Linked DNA regions of Homo sapiens: region 2 is linked to region 1. Evidence: promoter capture Hi-C in human tissues and cell types (Jung and others, 2019). All regions are on one chromosome and are shown on one strand. The core of a region is centred on a gene start or on the middle of the fragment in contact, and the rest is flanking DNA. Distances in the headings are between cores, read along the strand shown. Region 1 holds the start of GDF3 (growth differentiation factor 3). Region 2 overlaps CLEC4C (C-type lectin domain family 4 member C).

Region 1 (6,470 bases), core at 3,308-5,807:
GCAGTGGCGTGATCTTGGCTCACTGCAAGCTCCGCCTCCCAGGTTCAGGCCATTCTCCTGCCTCAGCCTCCGGAGTAGCTGGGACTACAGGCACCCTCCACCACGCCAGGCTAATTTTTTTGTATTTTTAGTAGAGACGGGGTTTCACCGTGTTAGCCAGGATGGTCTCGATCTCCTGACCTCGTGATCCGCCCGCCTCAGCCTCCCAAAGTGCTGGGATTACAGGCGTGAGCCACCGTGCCCGGCCAACTTTTATTTTAAATTCAGGGGTACATGTGCAGGATGTGCAGGTTTGTTACATAGGTAAATGAGTGTCACGGGGACCCATTGTACAGATTGTTTAATCCAGGTGTTAAACCTAGTATCCATTCATTATTTTTCCTGATTCTCTCCCTCCTCCCACCCTCCCTCCTTTTCGCATTTTATGGATTAGAAAACTAAAGACCAGAGAAACAATTTTTCCAGGACCCACAGCCAGTAAGCGATTGAGTTAGGATTTTAGTCTTAAGTCCATGACTCCAGAACCAATTCTATACTACCTAGCTATATTGCCTTGATTTTCTTTTCTTTTTCTTTTTTTTTTTTTTTTTTAAGACAAGTCTCGCTCTGTCACCCAGACTGGAGAACAGTGGCACAGTCTCAGCTCACTGCAACCCCCACCTCCCGGGTTCAAGTAATTCTCCTGCCTCAGCCCCCTGAGTAGCTGGGATTACAGGCATGTACCACCAGGCCCAGCTGATTTTTGTATTTTTAGTAGAGATGGGGTTTCACCATGTTGGCCAGGCTGGTCTCGAACTCCTGACCTCAAATGATCCACCTGGCCACTGTGCTTGGCTGATTTTTATTTTCTGATTTGGGCTCAAAGTCCAGAATTACAGTGGCTTTGCTTATAGAATCTTTTTTTTTTTTTTTTTTTTTTTTTTTGAGACAGCGTCTTGCTCTGTTGCCCAGGCTGGAGTGCAGTGGCATGGTGGCGTGATCTTGGCTCAATGCAAACTCTGCCTCCTGGGTTCAAGCAATTCTCCTGCCTCAGTCTTCCGAGTAGCTGGGATTACAAGCGTCTGCCACCATGCCCCACTAAGTTTTGTATTTTTAGTAAAGATGGGGTTTCACCATGTTGGTCAGGGTGGTCTTGAACTCCTGACCTCAGGTGATCCACCCATGTCGGCCTCCCAAAGTGCTGGGATTACATGCGTGAGCCACTGCACCTGGTCTGCTTATAGAATCTTTAAAAACAATAAAATTCAATCCTATGATTTCTTAGGTAAGCAAAGTGAGTCCCAAATAGGTTAGCCCTGTATGACATATCAGACCATTCCAATTCTTCACTTTGAAAAATTTCCATGCCTGAGTATATATCATAAAAGACTGAGTGAATTGCCTAAGATTACATTGTTTATTTATTTATTTATTTATTTATTTTTGAGATGGAGTTTCATTCTTGTTGCCCAGGCTGGAGTTCAATGGTGCGATCTCAGCTCACTGCAATCTCCGCCTCCTGGGTTCAAGCGATTATCCTGCCTCAGCCTCCTGAGTAGCTGGGATTACAGGCAAACGCCACCACTCCAGGCTAATTTTGTATTTTTAGTAGAGACGGGGTTTCAGCATGTTGGTCAGGCTGGTCTCAAACTCCTGATCTCAGGTGATCTGCCCACCTTGGCCTCCCAAAGTGCTGGGATTACAGGAGTGAGCCACCGCGCCCAGCCTACGATTACATCGTAATTGGAAATGCTGTGCTTAACTCAGATCCCCTGGCCGATTTGGTGCTTTTCCTGCTAGGCAACTGCACATTCTCTATTACTTCTTTTTCCCTCCATGATCAAACTACCTCTCTCCCTGCCTTTTTTTTTTTTTTTTTTTTTTTTTTCTTTTTCTCTTAGCTTGTGCTCTGCTGAACCTTTTTTTTTTCCTTTAGGAACTGGGTCTTGCTATAGTACCCAGGTTGGCGTCGCACTCCTGAGCTCGAGGGATCTTCCCACCTCAGGCTTCTAAGCGGCTGGGACTACAGGCACAAGCCACTGCACCTGATCGACCTCCTCTTTAATTAATAATAATGACGATAATAATAATAGCTAACTTTTATTGAGTGCTTTCCATTCGGCAGACATTGTCCTGAATGTCATCTGTACATTATTTTACGAGTTGCCCTCAGCACCTTAACAAAGAATGTTTTTGTTTGTTTGTTTGTTTGTTTTGAGACGGAGTCTTGCTCTATCCCAGGCTGGAGTGCAGTGGCGCGATCTCTGCTCACTGCAAGCTCCGCCTCCTGGGTTCACGCCATTCTCCTGCCTCAGCCTCCCGAGTAGCTGGGACTACAGGCACCCGCTACCATGCCCGGCTAATTCTTTTGTATTTTTAGTAGAGACGGGGTTTCACCATGTTAGCCAGGATGGTCTCGATCTCCTGACCTCGTGATCCGCCCGCCTCGGCCTCCCAAAGTGCTAGGATTACAGGCATGAGCCACCGCGCCCAGCAACGAAGAATATTTTATTCCCATTTTACACTTGAGTGGCTTGCTCATGGTCACATAACTAATCAGTAGTGGAACCAGAATTTGAACCAGTTAGTCTGATTTCTGACCTTAAGTCAGGAAAGTCAAATAAAGAAAACCCAAATACAACCTACTCTTATTGTTGAAAAAAGGTTAAGATTGTAGATTAATTTAAAAGTGTTAAATAAGATAGAAACAGGAGATAAGAGAAGTGGGACCTGCGAGCAGTGGCACCTGCCTGTAGTTCTAGTTACTTGGAGGCTGAGGCAGAAGATTCCCTTGATCCAGTAATTCAAGGCCAGCCTGGGCAACACAGTGAGACACTCCCCAAACCTAGTCTCTAAAAAAAAAAAAGAAAAAAAAGAAATGGGGAAGACCTCACTATATAAAAGAGTGAGACCTCTAGAAATAGCAACCAATTAATTCCTTAATTTATTTTTTGCACAGATACTTATCAAATGTCTGCTACCTGCCGGACACTTTCTTCACCAGTGGAGATACTTTGGGGAAAAAGACACACTGAAGATACTTAGGCAAAGAGACACAGTTCTGATCCTCAAGGTGTGAGTTGTCTGAAAAGGAAGGAGGCAAACACAGTAAAATGCACTGCAGAAACTGTAATGGAGGGCCGGGTGCAGTGGCTCACACCTATAATCCCAACACTTTGGGAGGCCGAGGTGGGTGGATTACCTGAGGTCAGGAGTTTGAGACCAGCCTGACCGACATGGAGAAACCCCGTCTCTACTAAAAATACAAAAGTAGCCGGGCATGGTAGCGCATGCCTGTAATCCCAGCTACTAGGGAGGCTGAGGCAGGAGAATTGCTTGAACCTGGGAGGCAGAGGTTGTGGTGAGCTGAGATCGTGCCATTGCACTGCAGCCAGGGCAACAAGAGCGAAACTCCGTCTCAAAAAAAACAAAAAAACAAAAAAACTGTAATGGATGCCCAAGTATGGCTCAGTGGGAGAAAGAAGTATCTCAATCTATTTTGGTGAGTCGAAACTGTGGAAGTAGAGGTGACCTTTGAACTTGGTCTGTGTAAAGGCTCTGAGATGAAATGAGCTCACAGAGCTACAAATAGGTCAATGTAATTAGAGCATCCACACTAAGGATGGTGGGTGGTGAGAAACAAGGCTGGCGGCTGGGTGTAGTGGCTCATGCCTACAATCCCAGCACTTTGGGAGGCCGAGGTGGGAAGACTGCTTGAGACCAGGAGTTCAAGACCAGTCTGGACAACATGGCAAGGCCCCATCTCTGTAAAAAATAAAACAATTAGCTGGAAGTGGTGCCCTATGCCTGTAGTCTCAACTACTCCAGAGGCTGAGGTGGGATGATCTCTTGAGCTCAGGGGGTCGAGGCTTGCAGTGAGCCAAGATCAGGCCACTGCACTCCAGCCTGGGCAACAGAGCGAGACCCTGTCTCAAAAATAAATAAATACATAAATAAAAATAAAAATAAAAATAAAATAATGAAATCTACTTGAGTATTTGTCTAATCCAGGGGTGTCCAATCTTTTGGCTTCCCTGGGTCACATTGGAAGAAGAAGAATTGTTTTGGGCCACACGTAAAATATACTAACACTAATGATAGCTGATGAGCTTAAAAAAATCACAAGAAAGTTTCATAATGTTTTACGGAAGTTTATGAATCTGTGTGGGGCTGCATTCAAAGCCATCGTGAGCCTCATGTGACCCTCCGGCCGCAGGTTGGACAAGCTTGGTCTATGTAGATGATTAATTACAAGTCTATGAATTATTCACTGCTCTATTCCTAGCACCTATCTCAGCACCGTGCACATAATAGATGCTTAGTAACTGTTTGTTAAATGAATAAATGCATGTCTCCTTTTCACTCTGTCTACTGCTGACAACCTCACATTGTTGTAGAATTTATGTCCATGCATTGGTAATCTTTGTTCTGTGAACTTTTTCCTGGAAGAGTAGAGCAAGAGAAGAGAAAAAAAAATTCCCTCTTCACATCCAATGGCCTTTGAGGAGCTGGGAAGAGAGCAATTCACACTTGATTATCTTACATCAGATAAATTAGCAGCCTCTGAATTGTTGGGCAGTCTGGCAGTGGAGCTCTCCCCGGTCTGACAGCCACTCCAGAGGCCATGCTTCGTTTCTTGCCAGATTTGGCTTTCAGCTTCCTGTTAATTCTGGCTTTGGGCCAGGCAGTCCAATTTCAAGAATATGTCTTTCTCCAATTTCTGGGCTTAGATAAGGCGCCTTCACCCCAGAAGTTCCAACCTGTGCCTTATATCTTGAAGAAAATTTTCCAGGATCGCGAGGCAGCAGCGACCACTGGGGTCTCCCGAGACTTATGCTACGTAAAGGAGCTGGGCGTCCGCGGGAATGTACTTCGCTTTCTCCCAGACCAAGGTAAGGAAATAGAGTGTTATCCAGAAAAACATCTGGAACTGGGTGGTGTGAAGAAAGGAAAGGACAATAGGAAATGACAATTACTGATGGCCTTGTGCTGGTATTTTTCATATTTTGTCTCATTTAATTCCAGCCACGATCCTGAGAGGAAGTTAGATATTCTTATCAAGTTCCTAACAGTAAGGAAATTAGGCTCAGACAGTAGGTAACCTGTAATCTATTCAAGATCATACAGCTAGTGTGTGAGAACAAAGTCAGGATTTGAAATAGGTTTTTGTTTTCTGAATCAACTGCTTTGTGCTTCAGTTGAGATGAAAGAGGTGAGGGAGGAATCAGAGCTCAGTCTCCCACCCTGCAGCCCATATATACACATCCTGCCGTCTTCCATGTGGCAAGCAGGGTATGAAAATTTTGAGGTTGGTTTGCCCAGGAGTCCTGCTTCCCTTATTTGTACCTCCTGGCTACTCTTGTTGGGTGGCAAAGGTTATTCTAGATTTGTGAATAGAGAGCAATAATATATACAACTGTCATATCCTTTTAAAAGGATCTCAGTGAGTGGGATCCAGTACTTTCCCAAACTGACCACCCACCAAATAACTTAGGTCTTCCATTAACAGTAGATCCTCCAACCCCATTCCTGCCCCTAGTTCTCCCCACCCAATTCTTATTCAAAGTCTGAAATGGGTGTTGAGAATCTGCATGTCTATACAACCTCCCGGGTGTTTCAGATGCAGAATTTAGAGCCTTGGTTAGTTTTACAGCAACTGGAGAGAAGATTTGAATATTTATTTGTCCAAGAAGCACTTATTGGATACCTATGGTGAGCCAGGAACTGTGTATGGCCTTGAGAATACAAGATAAAGTTTGCCTTTTTTTTTTTTTTTTTTTTTTGAGAGTCTCGCTCTGTCCCCCAGGCTGGAGTAGAGTGGCACTTTCTCAGCTCACTGCAACCTCCGCTTCCTGGGTTCAAGTGATTCTTCTGCCTCAGCTTCCCAAGTAGCTGGGATTACAGGCGTGTGTCACCAAGCCCAGCTAATTTTTTAATTTTTTAATTTTTTAGTAGAGACAGGGTTTCACTATATGTTGGCCAGGCTGGTCTTGAACTCCTGACTTCAGGTGATCCGCCTGCCTCAGCCTCCCAAACTGCTGGGATTACAGGCCTGAGCCACCGCACCCAGCCCAGAATTACCTTTTAAAAATGCGTATTGAGTCGTACTGCTCCTCCACGTAAAATTCTCGTCTGCAAAATTCTGCAAGAGTTGACCCACCATGCCCTGCCTGTTCTGACCCTGCTGCTTACTTCCCCAGTCTCACCTTTTACACCCTCTCCTTGCACACTCAACTCCAAGCTCATAGTAGTCTATTCCTTCTAGAGCATGCACTCTTGTCTCATCCTCACACGTGCTGTATCCAGGCTGCCTGAAGTACTCCCTCAGAATTTGCCTGGTCAAGTACTTCAGGCTTTTCTTCTTCTTCCTCTTGTTCTTCCTCTTTTTGTTTTTTCCCCTTGAGACAGGTCTTGCTGTGTCACCCAGGCTGGACTGCAGTGGCACAATCTCGGCTCACTGCAGCCTCCACCTCCTGGGCTCAAGCGATCTT
Region 2 (6,713 bases), core at 3,203-5,702, 38 kb before region 1:
TGCTAAAGATGTGGACATGGTTCATATATGACCACCAATGAATGATGAGAACCTGAAGTTAAAGTATTTGTCTTTCAGATCATTTTTGTGGGTTTAAAGCAGGGCCTGGAAAACTAAGGCATGGGCCAAACTCAACAAGCTGCCTAGTTTTGTAAATGGCATTTTATTGCCATACTCATGTTCTTTTTTTTTTCTTTGGTAACATATTGCCAGTGGTTGCTTTCGTACTGCAGTAGCAGAGTTAAGCAGTTGCAACAGAAACCGTATGGCCCAAAAAGCCTGAGATATTTACTATCTGGCCTTTTGCAGGAAGTTTGCTGGTCCCTGTATAGAGTGAAATGATCTAGGGATTAGTAAATACACCAGTAAATGAGTTCAGCTTTGGAAAATCCGTGGAGATCCATAGGTGAAAACTAATTAAACCTTAGCAAGCTAAGCTTATAACTTTATGTGAGGAGAATTCTCTGTTAATATTTTTTCTTCTTCTATACTCATTTGGGAAGATTGGAGCTGCTGCCCAACCCCTTGGACTTCATTTCAGTCTAGTTGCTACTTTATTTCTACTGGGATGCAATCTTGGACTAAGAGTCAAAAGAACTGTTCTGTGATGGGGGCTGATCTGGTGGTGATCAACACCAGGGAAGAACAGGTATGTTCTAACAGGCAAGGTGGTCAGCTAATCTGTTTCCTTTCTTAACTGATAAAGAGTCTTTTTATTGCCCTGAAAGTTCAAAGACAGGAAAAAAAAAAAAACTTCTGGGTAAAAAAAAACCCAAAAAACAAAAAACACAGGAAAATCTCCTTAATCTGGAACACTCAAAAATGACTTTTATTTTTATTTTTTTTGGGGGGACTGTCTCCTTTTGTCACCCAAGCTGGAGTGTAATGGCACGATCTCAGCTCCCTGCAGCCTCCGCCTCCCGGGGTCAAGTGATTCTCCTGCCTCAGCCTCCCAAGTAGCTGGGAGGATAGGCATGTACCGCCACGCCTGGCTAATTTTTGTATTTTTAGAAGAGACGAGGTTTCACCATGTTAGTCAGGCTGATCTTGAACTACTGACCTCAAATGATCCACCTGCCTCGGCCTCTCAAAGTGTTGGGATTATAGGCGTGAGCCACCATGTGTGGCCAACAATAACTTTATTTTTTATTTTTATTTATTTATTTATTTATTTTGAGACGGAGTCTTGCTCTGTTGCCCAGGCTGGAGTGCAGTGGCACAATCTCAGCTCACTGCAAGCTCAGCCTCCCGGGTTCACACCATTCTCCTGCCTCCCAAGTAGCTGGGACTACAGGCACCTGCCACCACGCCCGGCTAATTTTTTTGTATTTTTAGTAGAGATGGGGTTTCACTGTGTTAGCCAGGATGGTCTGGATCTCCTGACCTCGTGATCTGCCCGTCTCGGCCTCCCAAAGTGCTGGGATTACAGGTGTGAGCCACCACGTCTGGCTAACAATAACTTTAATAAAACAAATTCCGGAGCAAACTTCAGGCAAACATTGATGTTGAAATTTGATCCTGAAGAATTTTAATTTTAAAAATATAAGAAAAAAAATTCAGGCAAATAAAATAGTGAATTTGAAAAATGGAAAAATGATATTAATATTTGCCATCTAAGAAATGTCAACCAATTAAACATTAGTCCTTCATACTGTATCCTCTGCATTTCTTACCTTCTTTTCAACATTTTCCATCTATTTTTCTCTTTGTACTTGATTTTAAACAGTTTCTTCTGTCCTTCTATTCCAGTTCACTAATCTTCTTTTTGTTTTTGAGACAGAGTCTCACTCTGTTGCCCAGGCTGGAGTGCAATGGCGCCCAGGCTGGAGTGCAATGGCACGGTCTTGGCTCACTGCAACCTCCGCCTCCCAGGTTCAAGCGATTCTCCTGCCTCAGCTTCCCGAGTAACTGGGACTCCAGGTGCGTGCCACCACACCCAGCTAATTTTTGTATTTTTAGTAGAGACGGGGGTTTCACCATGTTGGCCAGGCTGGTCTTGAACTCCTGACCTCGTGATCCACCCACCTCGGCCTCCCAAAGTTCTGGGATTACAGGCGTGAGCCACCACACCTGGCCCTCCCACTTGACTAATCTTCTTCAACTATGTCTATCCTGCTATTAAAGCCATATATTAACATCTAAATTCAATTATTGTATTTTTCAAATCTAGAATTGATCTTGCTTCTCTTTCAAATATGCTGTCAAACTTTATAATGTTCAACACTTAAGCTTGTTTTTTTGCTGTTACTGGTTTTTGCTTTTTTTTTCTTTTTTTTGAGATGGAGTCTTGCTCTGTCGCCAGGCTGGAGTGCAGTGGCTCGATCTCAGCTCACTGCAACCTCCACCTCCTGCGTTCAAGCGATTCTCCTCTCTGTCTCCCGAGTAGCTGGGATTACAGGCGACCACCACCACACCTGGCTAATTTTTGTATTTTTAGTAGAGACGGGGTTTCACCATATTGGCCAGGCTAGTCTCAAACTCCTGACCTCGTGATCTGCCTGCCTCGGTCTCCCAAAGTGCTGGGATTACAGGCGTGAGCCACCGTGCCTGGCCGTTTTTTTTTTTTTTTTTCTTTGAGACAGAGTCTTGTTCTATCGCCCAGGCTGGAGTGCAGTGGCAAGATCTCTGCTTACTGCAACCTCTGCTTCCTGGGTTCAAGCGATTCTCCTGTCTCAGCCTCCTGAATAGCTGGGATTACAGGCGCCTGCAACCACGCCCAGCTAATTTTTGTATTTTTAGTAAAGATGAGGTTTTACCATGTTGGCCAGGCTAGTCTCGAACTCCTGACCTCAGGTGATCTACCTGCCCCAGCCTCCCAAATTGCTGGGATTACAGGTGTGGGCCACTGTGCCCAGATCTTCTTTTTTTATTTTTTTGAGACAGAGTCTCTCTCTGTCACCCCAGGCTGGAGTGCAGTGGTGTGATCTCGGCTCACTGCAACCTCTGACTTCTGTGTTCAAGTGATTCTTCTGACTCAGCCTCCTGACCAGCTGGGATTACAGGTGCATGCCACCGCTCCTGGCTAATTTTTGTATTTTTAGTAGAGACAGGGTTACACCATGTTGTCCAGGCTAGTCTCAAACTCCTGGCCTCAAGTGATCAGCCTGCCTCGGTCTCCCAAAGTGCTGGGGTTATAGGCCTGAGACACCATGCCTGGCCTATGGAATGTTTCAAATTATCCTTGTGTGATGGATGTTGTACTTGAAAAATTATTTATAAAAATAATTGGAGGCCAGGCACGGTGGCTCATGCTTGTAATCCTAGCACTTTGGGAGGCTGAGGCGGGTGGATCACCTCAGGTCAGGAGTTTGAGACCAGCCTGGCCAACATGGCGAAACCCTTCTCTACTAAAAATACAAAAATTAGCTCGGCATGGTGGCACATGCCTGTAATCACAGTTACTCGGGAGGCTGAGGCAGGAGAATCACTTGAACCCAGGGGGCAGAGGTTGCAGTGAGCCAAGATCATGCCACTTCGTTCCAGTCTGGGTGAAAAAGCAAAACTGTCTCAAAAAAAAAAAAAAAATTGGAGGCCTCAGATATTATTCTCTTCCAAAGAGTATTTTCATTTGCTTTTGCCACATGCCTTGGCACAAGTCCTACAGTACATTATGGCAATTTCAGGGCTTGAAATTTCTACAATATCCAAATGATTCAAAGCCAGATCATAATCTATATGAGGTCTGATTTACTGCCTATTTACCCTTACCTCTTTCTTGGCTCTGGACTCTAATTTTTGCCTAACCGTACAAAGTTTTCAAAAGTGCTGTTCATCCTGTCTCCCCAGCCATGTTGTAAACTTTTATTTGTTTTGACTTCTTATGCCACATTTAGCACAGGGTCTGGGCAGACAATAGACTGCTTGAATGTTCAATGAATGAATGAATAGATAAATTGATATGGCGGAGAGGGAGGGAAGCACACAAACCACTAACAATGTCTCGTATATGTTCATGTACATTCAAAATAATCTGAAAACCTATGTCAAAATATCTTTTCTTGTTTGTACAACATTATTTGAGGCCTGGCGACGTGTTTCATGCCTGTAGTCCCGGATACTTGGGTGGCTGAGGCAGAAGAATTGCTTGAATCTGGGAGGTAGAGGTTGCAGTGAGCCGAGATCATACCACTGCACTCCAGCCTGGGTGAGAGAGCAAGACTCCATCTCAAAAAGAAACAAGTAAAACAAAACAAAATATATGACGGCTGGGTGTGGTGGCTCACGCCTGTAATCTCAGCATGTTGGGAGGCGAAGGTGGGCAGATCACTTGAGGCCAGGAGTTCAAGACCAGCTTGGGGGCCAGGTGCGGTGGCTCACGCCTGTAATCCCAGCACTTTGGGAGGCTGAGGCAGCTGGATCACAAGGTCAGGAGATTGAGACCATCCTGGCTAATATGGTGAAACCCCGTCTCTACTAAAAATACAAAAAATTAGCAGGGCATGGTGGCGGGAGCCTGTAGTTCCAGCTACTCGGGAGGCTGAGGCAGGAGAATGGCGTGAACCCAGGAGGCGGAGCTTGCAGTGAGCCAAGATCTCGCCACTGCACTCTAGCCTGGGCGACAGAGCAAGACTCAGTCTCAAAAAAAAAAAAAAAAAAGACCAGCTTGGTCAACATGGTGAAACTCCATCTCTACTAAAAATACAAAAATTAGCCAGGTGTGGTGGCATACACCTGTAGTCCCAGTTACTCAGGAGGCTGAGGCATGAGAATTGCTTGAACCCAGAAAGCAAAGGTTGCCCTGAGCCGAGATCACACCATTGCACTCCAGCCTTGGCAACAGACCAAGACTCCACCTCCAAAAAAAAAAAAAAATTTGGCTTTCTAAAATTTGATTATAGACCTCTATCTTTCTTGTAACACAGAACATGTACTGGTTAAGAATACTGGCTCTAGAGTTAGATCTCTGTTATTTATTAGTTGTGTGACGTTTGACAACTTTATCTTTCTAAATCTGTTTCCTGAGACTTAGTAAAATGGAGACAGCCACACTATCTTCCTCACAGTAGTAGTTGTAAAATTTACGTGAAGTAACTTATGCAAACTCATGGCATAATACTTGGCATATAGTAGACAATGACTAATTTTAACTACTACTATTATAAATATCTTTATTTTATTTTTTGAGACAGAATGTTGCTCTGTCCCTCTGTCGCCGAGACTGGAGTGCAGTGGCGCGATCTCCGCTCACTGCAGCTCCGCCTCCTGGGTTCATGCCATTCTCCTGCCTCAGCCTCCTGAGTAGCTGCCTGCCACCATGCCCGGCTAATTTTTTGTATTTTGGTAGAGACGGGGTTTCACCATGTTAGCCAGTATGGTCTTGATCTCCTGACCTCGTGATCCGCCATCCTCAGCCTCCCAAAATGCTTGGATTATAGGCGTGAACCACCACACCTGGCCATAAATATCTTTATTTTAAAGTGACCTGTGGTCGGGCACGGTGGCTCACGCCTGTAATCCCAGCACTTTGGAAGGCCGAGGAGGGTGGATCACAAGGTCAGGAGATCGAGACCATCCTGGCCAACATGGTGAAACCCCATCTCTACTAAAAATACAAAAAAATTAGCTGGGCATGGTGGCTCGTGCGTGTAATCCCAGCTACTCTGGAGCCTGAGGCAGAAGAACCGCTTGAACCAGGGATTTGGAGGTTGCAGTGAGCCGAGATCACACCACTGCACTCCAGCCTGGCGACAGAGTGAGACTCCATCTCAAAAAAATAAATAAAAAAAATAAAAAAATAAAGTGACCTGTGGCTGGACATCATGGCTCACGCCTGTAATCCCAGCACTTTGGGAGGCCTAGGCAGGCAAATCAACTGAGGTCACGAGTTTGAGACCAGCCTGGCCAACATGGTGAAACCCCGTCTCTACTAAAAATACAAAAATTAACCAGGCATGATGTTGCATGCCTGTTATCCCAGCTACTTAGGAGGCTGCGGCAGGATACTCACTTGAACCCGGGAGGCAGAGGTTGCAGTGACCCGAGATCGTGCCACTGCACTCCAGCCTGGGTAACAGAGTAAGACTCTGTCTAAAAAAAGAAAGAAAAAAAAGTGACCTGAAGCATTTGGAGTGTTCATGCAAAGTTGTTTTTTATTTTTGGGCAGGGGGTGGGTTTGCATTTTTTGGACACAGAGTCTCATTCTGTCACCCATGCTAGAGTGCAATAACGTGAGCTCGGCTCACTGCAGCTTCTACTTCCCAGGTTCAGGCGATTCTCATGCCTCAGCCACTCGAGTAGTTGAGATTACAGACTCCCTTTACAAGAAGAATATATTAGGAGTGAGGGAGAATTTCCTCACTACATGCAGAGTCTTGAAGAATGCTGTCACTTAGCAAAGAAATAGGAAAGCAAGTGTGACATGAGGATTTATGATGGCCATGGCTAGAGCGTGCTCCTGTACGTGCCAAACATCATGCTCACAAGTGATGTCTTTGATCCAGCCCTGCTCAGCCAGAGGCCTCTGCTGCTGGACAGGGGCCCTTTGTGGCTACTCCTGGGTCTTCTCCTTTTATTCTTTTCTTCCTATGGCGGTAAGAACTCAGTTCAACTTGAGTCCCCTAAAGGCTATTGTAAGAATTAAAGAAAGAGGAAAGAAATACGAAAGGTGGCTTGCCAGTCTATTTTAGAGAATTATTTTAGAGAAAATAAACCTGAGAGGAGCTTCTGGCTGAGTTAGATCAGAGGCCCACTCTCTTACAGACCAAGAGTTTTTA

Evidence for each region. The method cuts DNA at HindIII sites, captures the fragments that hold promoters and counts their contacts. A contact is called where the count stands out against the background at its distance.
Region 2: a contact is called between a fragment that was not itself captured here and the fragment with the promoter of GDF3 in region 1, in 1 of the 25 tissues and cell types used here (H1 embryonic stem cells).

What each region holds. Positions count from the first base shown.
Region 1 is chr12:7,693,862-7,700,331 of GRCh38, reverse strand. It overlaps GDF3 (growth differentiation factor 3), which reads left to right and starts at 4,557. Exons shown (of 2, transcript NM_020634.3): 1 at 4,557-4,871. The coding sequence starts at 4,604. RefSeq lists an enhancer at 6,076-6,470. The HindIII fragment of the contact is 8,403 bases long and covers 1,493-6,470 here.
Region 2 is chr12:7,731,365-7,738,077 of GRCh38, reverse strand. CLEC4C (C-type lectin domain family 4 member C) reads left to right here. Exons shown (of 6, transcript NM_001371390.1): 4 at 504-649. Among named protein-coding and RNA genes, the nearest start is that of CLEC4C, 13 kb to the left of the region's middle. RefSeq lists a silencer at 538-738. The HindIII fragment of the contact is 6,238 bases long and covers 1,334-6,713 here.